3 separate regions of the Homo sapiens genome follow, and regions 1 and 3 are each linked to region 2. Evidence: promoter capture Hi-C in 16 types of primary human blood cells and fetal thymus (Javierre and others, 2016). All regions are on one chromosome and are shown on one strand. The core of a region is centred on a gene start or on the middle of the fragment in contact, and the rest is flanking DNA. Distances in the headings are between cores, read along the strand shown. Region 1 overlaps ELOVL4 (ELOVL fatty acid elongase 4). Region 2 holds the start of BCKDHB (branched chain keto acid dehydrogenase E1 subunit beta). Region 3 overlaps ELOVL4 (ELOVL fatty acid elongase 4).

Region 1 (3,061 bases), core at 376-2,875, 190 kb after region 2:
GGAATTCATACATATATTATTGGGGGCCCAGTTTAAAACAATACAGTTAAAGGCAACTTCTGTAATTTTAAAAGAAAATTAGTAAATCTGAACTGACTTAGATCACTTTATGACAAAAATTAATTATTATTACATCTATACCTTGATTAAATTAATATTCTGAAAAGAAAGAATGTCATTGAGTTTGACTGACTGGAATATCTCTGTAGATTTATCTATATTAAATGAATTATTCAATGTGTGTAGTGCTGTCATATTTTAAACTATTTAGAAACCTAAGAAATAAGTACTGTTTTGTTGCAGATATATATATTGGCACATCTAAAGGCAAGAATAGTAGAATTAAAAGTAACATAGGCAACAGTTCTAAGGGCCTATTTAAGCTCACTGGAGTACTCCATTTGAAAACCTACAACTGTGAAAGTCCTTTGCATTTGAACATACATTTTTATTTATATGGTAAAACCTCAAATCTAAACTTTAAAAATATCTAGCTTAATCTGAAGGGAAAACTTTTTCATTAGTACTACTTTATATTTTTCATTTCTAATCTGTACTCAAGATTAAATATTAAAAAATAATGTGTATTCATTTATTGTACATCTCAGTGGCTTACTGCCTAATAAAATTTTCTGTATCTTGTAATTACCTGTTGTTTTTCTAAAGCATTTTTTGGAGCCCAGTTGAATTCCTTTATCCATGTGATTATGTACTCATACTATGGGTTAACTGCATTTGGCCCATGGATTCAGAAATATCTTTGGTGGAAACGATACCTGACTATGTTGCAACTGGTGAGTTAAATGCTTCCAAAGTTTCTTCTGGTAAAATACTGAAATTGTTTAAATTTGATTAATTTTAAAGTGCAATGTCATTTTAGACAATTTTCTATTATGAAATTAACTTTATCCTCCAGCTATATCGCAGTTATGCCCACTTGACTCTAGATGACCTATTCATAGACTTATTGGTCCCAGCAAATCTTTGTTTTTATAATATGCTTAAAAGACTAGACATAGCCCTTACTCCTCTAAGGAAAACATTCTCTAAAGATGTTTGTGGAAAGGATGATTAAAGATCTAAGCACGCTACAAAGTACGTAGTATGAATAGAAAAATAATATGTATTTTTTCCCTACAGGTGATTTTCTTAACTTAAAATTTTATTACCTTTCTTCATCTTGTCCTTGCTTAAAAATTTTGTTTTTTATTTCATTTTTCAGTCTTTAACATATCTCATATATTTAGACTAAACAGCTGAAAAGAAAGCACATAGCCAAGGAAGGGGTGGGGCAAAGGAAGGGAATAAGGGCAAGAGAACTCCTTGTAATTCTCTAAAACACTGTCCTTAAGAGAGCAGAGACAGATATTTTCAAATGGTGGTCTTTAGTCCAGACAGTTTTCAGCACATCCCGCTAGTAAGACTGTTTGTGGCAATCTGAGTGTGTGCATTAGTGTACCTTTCAGATGCTAGGCACTAGCCTGTAATCAAACTGGAAATTCAAAGCCAACCTGGTAACTATTTTTCAAGCTTTAGAATTTATTATAATTTGCTTTAATCATAGCATGTGCACAATTTTATCAGTGGAATCACATTTGGAAATAATATTCATCTTTGCTTTAAGTTGCTAAACAGCTGGCTAACCAAACAGGAAGCACAACTTTTGGGAAATGCTGGGTGCGAAGGATTCATTTGTAACCGGAGTGGTATAGGAAGCTTCCTCCAGTTTTTGTGTAAAAGCTGTTAACACAGTTTGTGTAATTCATTTCTCTCAGTAAGTAGTAAATGGACCTAAGAAAATGAAGAGGTGATCAAAATCATGTGAATTAGTCCTATCTGGTTTGTTGGAGCCTACACCTGGCTCTCCTTGAGTGATGCCATACCCAATCACACCCTTATACACACCCTTTTTGGTGATGCAGCTTCTAAAAACCATTGTGAAACCACAAGTTCTTCAAATTAAAATATTTGCCAAGGAAAATTATAAAAGTTTAATATAGTATAAATTTTTAGCTTACATGGCATACATTATTTTAATATTTAAAATAAGTAATACTGATTATTTTAATCAATAATTAATATTTTAAGAACAATGCTATCCTTAAAAGAGAAACCACAATTGTCCATTTCAAACAGGATGTTGAGTTTGTATTTCCAAGCCAGAAGTTCCCACAACAGTTAGTCATATAAGTTAATTGTATAAAAAGTTAACCCTTGTTAACATTATGTCTTGACCCATTCTTTTATTGATACATCAGAATCTATTTCATTTTAATCATCTCACTTTGGGCTTTTTTCCTTTTAAAAATTCTTAAAGTTGAAAGTGATTCTTTTTGTATTTATTCTGAAATATCTACTAAATTTTATCCAAATATTATTTTTTTCTTTTTTTGGGACGGAGTTTTGCTCTTGTTGCCCAAGTTGGAGTGCAATGGTGCAGTCTGGGCTCACTGTAACTTCCGCCTCCTGGGTTCAAGCTATTCTTCTGCTTCAGCCTCCTGAGTAGCTGGGATTACAGTCATGGACCACCACACCTGGCTAATTTTTTGTATTTTTAGTAGAAATGGGGTTTTACCATGTTGGCCAGGCTGGTCTTGAACTCCTGACCTCAGTTGATCCACCCGCCTCGGCCTCCCAGAGTGCTGGGATTGCAGGCATGAGCCATCGCACCTGGCCATCAAAATATTAGTTTTTAAAGGATAGTGTTCGTTCAAATAAAAATTTACCTGCCTACTATCTGTAAGAAATAAATGAGCCATTTTGATAAGCTCATTTTAAGTATGTGTATCTGCTTGCTGACAATTTGATAGAAAGAAACCAATGTAAAATGTGGGAGGAAAACAAAATTGAAGAGCCTACAATACTATTACTTTACTCTCCTAGGCCATTGATTCCCTTTCATCAGATAACATTATTCAACACATATTCATTGATCCTGATGCTGTGCTGAGGACTCAAGAATCACCGATGGGCAAGACAAAGCCCTGCCTTCTAGAGTCATTTTCTAGTGGAAAGATAGGCAATAAAGAAATAACAAATACAGAAGACAATTTCAAATAGG
Region 2 (3,232 bases), core at 123-2,622:
ATGATGAAACATACACACAGCACCTGACCCTGGTAAGCACTCAATAACTGTTCATTCTTATCCACAAGACACACTTCCAAAAATGTCAGCTCTAGCATGCACATGAGAAGTTATTAGACAAGGAAGCAATACATGTTTCCCTACAGTTTCCTGATATTCTGAAGAGAGACACTGGATCTGATATTCTGATGAGAGACATTACATGAAACTTGCAGAAATGGTAAAAATCATGCAACAGTCATACTATGAGGAGTTTGCTACATGCCCTTCCTATGGCTTCCTCCTCTCATCCCCTTCACCTCCTTGGCTAAGTGGCAGCATAGCCCAGGACAAGCTCAGTACTAAGCTCAAGTAGAAAGTCTGAATTCTTTCACATCTCTAGGAAGGACCTGTTCTGTGACCTTGGGAAAATCAGTTCAATTACTCAGAATTCTGTAGGTAAGAAGAAACCAAGGGACATATATACATATATGCATATATATATGCATATATATGTGTGCATATATATATATGCATATATATATATATGCGCACATATATATGCATATATATGCGCGTATATATATCCACACATATATATATGTGTGTGGATATATACACACACACACACACACACACATACACACAATTTCTGTATGTAAGAAGAAACCAAGGGACTGAGTAACTGAATTGATTTTATATACATATATATATTTTATATATAATATATATAATATACATTTAAAATATATATATATAAACATATATATATATCTTTTAAATGCCTCTACCTAAGCTAGTGGCCCAGTCCTGGCCAGGCTGGAACAACACCTAAGGCCTGGGTTGAGAAAGCAAGGACGGAGGACAGAGAAAAGGGAGGCGTTCCCTGGGCACCACCCCTCCACCCTCAGGCTCTTCCAGGTGGCAGTATGCCCTCTCACCCATCTCAAAGTTGCGGGGGAGGGGGGACTGCGTCTCGAGGGCTGAACAGTCACAAAAATAGAGCAAGAAGTGAACCACAGTTAGACCCTGAGGCAAGGAGGTTCCAGAGAGTCAGGAAGTTAATAAGCTGGGATGCAAGGATTGCAGCCTGCCGGCCCCTGCCCCTCGCGGGCGCCTGCGAGCCTGGGAGTCCGGGCTGCAGCGGGACCGAGTGGGCAGTCCCAGGGCTCACCGTACTCCCGGGGCTCCGGATCTGGCTGGAAAGTAAAATGAGCCACCTGCCGCCTCTGGGCCGCATCCTCGACAGTCGCGGCGGGGTGCAAAAAGCCCCGCGCCAGCCCCGCGCCAGGAAGCCGACGCCAGTGCCCCTCAGCCCCTGCCGCCCTGAGCCTGAGTAGCCAGCCGGCAGCCGCCGCTACAACCGCCATCCCCGCTCACCACCGGGATTCTCAGGCTATGCAGCCGCACGCCGCCTGCGGGGAGGGCGGAGCACCCGAGGAGGCTTCCACATTGGTCGGGCCAGAGGGGCGGTCCCATGAAACAGACCAATCGGAACTGGAAATTTAGGGGCGGGGAAGGCGACGTGACGAGCTGGTCGGCTTCTGCTCCTTGTGCGCATGCGGAAGAGGGGAAGTGTGGGCTAGAGGTGGCGCCAATGAAATAGTTTCTGGGGTGGAGCCTCCCCGAGGTCGGCCGTGCGGTCCTCGGGTGAGGACCCGAGTTTGCAAAGTTCCACACAGTGCCTGGAGGCGATCTTTTCCGGTGTCATTTACAGTGCCATTTCCAATGGTTTAACATCCATACTTTTTTTTAAATGTAACCCTTTTTTATCCTGTCCTGTCTCTATTATTGTGTGAGAGGTGAAGAGAGCTACTGATTGGCATTGGTTATTGTTTTGACTTTCGAAAAACTGCTGTAGTCACTGCTCAAAGCTTTCACTCCTTATTCACACCCTCCTTAAAATGCTTAATAAGCATATATAGATTTTTATTGATTTCGTTTTTCCACATTTAAATGAGAGATGAAAGAGGTAAACTTAGATTTCATCCTGCAAATCCACTGAATAGGAATTCAGATACATTTTGCCCAGAAGTAGCAAAAATTACCTGATTGGCTTAGTCTAAGTAGCTTAGAAACCTGGAGAATTTGAGTCACTAATTTTCATTTATAGTAATCAACTATGTAAATTTGTTTTAATCTAAGTGTTTACCAGGATACATTCTCTGTCCATGAATTTACTAAAAAAAAAAAAAAGCACATAAAACATGAAATATCATAAAATCAAATATGACAAGAGACAACAGAGACAGTGTGTCCATCAGATGAAAATGGGAGGGTGGGGAAGGATGGTCCCAAAACAGAATTTGAAGAAGAAAGTGGGAGTGGAGGAAAAGAACATTCCTCTTCCATTATGCCTTGCCTCTTAACCCATCTTTGGTTTTGCACAGGGGCAAGGGAGGAGAGGGTAGAAATGGGGCAAAAGGAGAGGCAGAGAAATGTGTTTTCTGACTGAGATTAAGAAACAGCAATTGAAAACTGCCAAAGGGAGAACCAGAATTATGTCTCCATTTTTCCTACCCCCACACTAAGTCCAAAAATTCAACATTGGGGAAATTTTTTATCTTGGCTTTTGTTAGTGTTCATTTCTGCTGTTTTAATAGTGTGGGGTAGAGTGTTTTGCATGTGCATGAAGGGTATTTTTGTTTTAATGAAGGAAGGGGTAACAAAATGAAATTACATTTACATAGTCAAATTTGGGTTTAAACTAAGGAGAGTAAAGAACAAGGATAAAAATGAATAGAGCTTTTTTTCTATTTGTTGATAGTTTAGGGAGCTGGGGGTACTGAGATTATTTAGGTCGGGGAGAAAAAGAGAAAAATAATAACTGATGAGAATTTTATTGAACCTCTGCTACGTACAACCCAATGACAAGCCACCATTGAGACAAATAAGATCAAGGCATAGTTTTACTTCTAAAATGTCCAAGGTGGTAGAGAAAAGAGACAGATTAGGCAACTACAATCCAATGTGATAGGAGTCCTAGAATAGTGCAAACAAAGTGAAACACAAAAAGAGCAATAAACTCTTATTTGAAAGTCAAGTGTTTCCAGATATAACTCTGAGCTAGACCTAAAAGATGACTAGAAGTTACCAGGCAGACTAGGGAGAAAATGGCATTCCAAACTAAGAAGAAACCTGTATAAAGGCTGATAGGCATGAAGAGCACAGTGCATTCCAGGAAGAGAAAATAGCTTGGTGCTTCTAGATTCAGGGTGTAGGGAATGATACAGGGTTAACAGAAAAAGTAGGA
Region 3 (3,223 bases), core at 142-2,641, 170 kb after region 2:
AGATATCAGTCTAAACTCAGTCTTCATATTTTTCCAATAGAAAATGTGAAATTTTAACATACATCATTACAAATGATTTTCTATTATAAACACTTTATATATGAGCATTTTTTACTTAAGTTTGGAAGTATGGCTTAAGATTTTTGTAAAATTGATAAAAATGTGTAGGTCTTACAGAAGAGAAAACAAAAGAAACTAAATGGTTTTGGTATAAGTATGTTCCTTAACTAATCAAAATACAAATTTTTAAAATCTTTTGCCATATATTTTTCTTCATGAAATATTACCATTTGTAAACAAATACCTTAGAATGATGTTTTATTTATGATTATATTGTATTAGAGTAAAATTTTTGGAATTTGAAAGACAAATGCATTAGTCCACTGAGGAAATCAGTTACTCACTGTCAGGTATAATCACATAAAAGCATTTGTGATTTTGAACTGCAGAATTCCAAGAAACAAGCTTTTCTGTTTTCATTTTTATTCACTTATCAAACAAAAACTTGAGCACAGATGTGTGTTTTTAACTAATTTTATATATTTTTTCACACACGTACATAGCAGCATTATTCACAGTAGTTAAGAGGTGGAAACGACCCAGATGTCCAGTGTTGGATAAATGGATAAACGCAACGTGGTATATACATACAATGGAATATTATTCAGTCTTAAAAAGGAAAGAAATTCTGACATGTGCTACAACATAGATGAACCTTGTTACTAAGTGAAATAGTCTAGTCACAAAAAGATAATTATGTATGTGGCATTATGGTTCCACTTATATGGACCCTCTACTGTAGTCAAATTCGGGCTGGGCCCAGTGGCTCATGCCTATAATGCTAGCACTTTGGGAGGTGGAGGCTCAAGGATCACTTGAGCCCAGGAGTTCAAGACCAACATGAGCAACAAAAAAATATTAAAAATTAGCCAGGCCTGGTGCCATATGCCTCTAGTCTCAGCTATTGAGAAGGCTGAGGGAGAAGGATCACTTGAACCTGGGAGGTGAAGGCTTCAGTGAACCATAATTGTGCCACTGCACTCCAGCCTGGGTGACAGAGTAAGATCCTGGCCCAATAAATAAATAAATAAATAAATAAATAAATAAATAAAGTAGTCAAATTAATAGAAACAGAAAGTAGAAAGATGTTTGCTAGGGCCTGGGGAGAAGGAGAACTGATGACTTGTTTAATAGGTATAGAGTTTCAGTTTTTCAAGATAGAAAAGTTCCAGAGAGTCACAACAATGTGGATATGCTTAATGATACTGGACTGTACACTTAAAAATGATTAAGATGGTATATTTTATGTTATGTGCTTTTCTTTTTACCGCAATGCAAGAATTTCATATATTATAAAATTAATACATTAGCACCTGTAGAAATGATCTCTTTAGTGCTCAATGGTAAAACAGTCAATTCTTCTTTATTTTTTCAATTTAAAGTAAAATGACTTTATAAAGAGACTATATAGCTGTTGGCTTAAAAAAAATCCGAGTGGCTAGAAAGTAGCAAATAACAAGAAAGAAAACTTTAGCTTTGTATTTTGCTTTATGGTTTTACAAACAACTTCACAATAACTCTGGGAGATAGGCCTTGAAGGCATTTTTTCCATATATTTAGAAGTCTTTGAGATTTACAGAAGTTACGTAACTTTTGTAGGTGGTCACTATAGTGCAAATGAATGTGCATGGGTTGTTTTGTCCCTAGCCCAGTGCTCTTGTCTTCCCGTCACACTAGCCAAGCAAGAAAGAAATAATCAGGCCTGTAATCTGTGTTTCTCTTTTATTTTACCTTTTCTTTTATTGTTATCTACAGAGTATCACTGTTTAGAATACTAAATCTGAACAAAGTCATAATATTACCAAAGATCATCTAAAGAAAGACATCTAAATATTCAAAGGTGCTATAAAGGCTGGTGTATGAGATTAAACTACAAAGTGATATTTATTCATATACTATATACATACACAAATATGTGAATATATGTAGAATACAAAATGCGATATTTAGCCTGAGAAGATGGTTAACTTCCATATGACGGTGTAGGATTGTTTAAAAAAAGTGTATTCAAAGTGAATTATGAAAGTATTTGCCAAATTGCATAATACAAGAGCTAGAAACTTGTTAGTGAAAGGATAATGAAATTCATTCAGGACTAACCGTATTTTACCCAGTGGCTATTCAACTTATAGAACTGTTAGAGTCAAGGGAAGATTTTGGCTAAAGTTCCCATTAACTCACACACTCACACACTCTAATGGTATCTTCCATCTTTTTTGCTAAAGGGAAACACCATTTCAATTTTCTTAAAGCTTTGAGTTCATTGGCAGCATTGGGTGGATGGTTGAACTTGGAACTCCCAGATTAAGTTTTATGACTACTTTTTCTGAGAAGCCCAGCAAAATTGGAAACAAGGAGAGAAGGAAACTACTTGTATTCTGATCTTGGCTTCCAGGAAACGAGGCAACATTCTTCAGCTCTCTCTCTCGAGATATATTTTCTCCCTTGAAATTGTCTCCTTTTCCCTTATGAACTGGCTTTTATGAATAGGCCATTTTCTGAAGTCATGAATTTGGACATCACCTGCACTTGGGCATGGTGGCTCACGCCTGTAATCCCAGCACTTTGGGAGGCCGAGGCGGGTGGATCATTGAGGTCAGGAATTTGAAACCAGATATCGTCTGCACATGATGAAACTCACTACCATTTATTGAGCATTTAGTATAGGACCATTTTAAGATGCTGTAGTACTGTATTTGATACACCTTATATTTAATTTTCAGATCATCTCTATAAGTTAGATATTATTTAACCATCTATAGATGAAGAAATAGACTCAAAGCTACATAGCTAGAAAGTAACAGAGTTGGAATAGGATCAAGATCTTTCTCCTTCCCAACAGTGACCTTTTTATAATGCAACATAGCCTACTTATTTATTCAATAAATACCATTTTATTGCCCAGTAATAATAGTGAACATTTATTGGATGCTTACTAAGTGTCAGGCACTGTGTCCAGTGTTTTATATGTATTATCACATTTAGTCCTCATATTCCATTGGGCTCGGTACCGTTATTATCCCCATTTTCCAGGTGAGTAAACTGACTTTCCCTGAACCTGATTCATCTAATACTAACCCTGTCAAATTAAATCCCAGGGTAACCAGCCTTCAGCTCGAATCACACATTGATTCTCTCATCTGTGTTAACTGTCTTTTCTCCT

The links. The method cuts DNA at HindIII sites, captures the fragments that hold promoters and counts their contacts. A CHiCAGO score of 5 or more calls a contact.
Region 1: a contact is called between a fragment that was not itself captured here and the fragment with the promoter of BCKDHB in region 2, in 1 of 17 cell types (fetal thymus). The highest score is 6.9, in fetal thymus.
Region 3: a fragment that was not itself captured here is called in contact with the fragment with the promoter of BCKDHB in region 2 in 1 of 17 cell types (fetal thymus); the score reaches 7.3 in fetal thymus.

The regions. Positions count from the first base shown.
Region 1 is chr6:79,917,153-79,920,213 of GRCh38, reverse strand. ELOVL4 (ELOVL fatty acid elongase 4) reads left to right here. Exons shown (of 6, transcript NM_022726.4): 5 at 667-794. Among named protein-coding and RNA genes, the nearest start is that of ELOVL4, 29 kb to the left of the region's middle. The HindIII fragment of the contact is 186 bases long and covers 1,533-1,718 here.
Region 2 is chr6:80,104,811-80,108,042 of GRCh38, reverse strand. It overlaps BCKDHB (branched chain keto acid dehydrogenase E1 subunit beta), which reads right to left and starts at 1,372. Exons shown (of 10, transcript NM_183050.4): 1 at 1,154-1,372. The coding sequence starts at 1,349. RefSeq lists enhancers at 1,030-1,109, 1,076-1,576 and silencers at 1,160-1,259, 1,290-1,489. The HindIII fragment of the contact is 20,612 bases long and covers 1-1,855 here.
Region 3 is chr6:79,937,393-79,940,615 of GRCh38, reverse strand. All of the region lies in intron 1 of ELOVL4 (ELOVL fatty acid elongase 4), which reads left to right. Among named protein-coding and RNA genes, the nearest start is that of ELOVL4, 8.5 kb to the left of the region's middle. The HindIII fragment of the contact is 1,847 bases long and covers 468-2,314 here.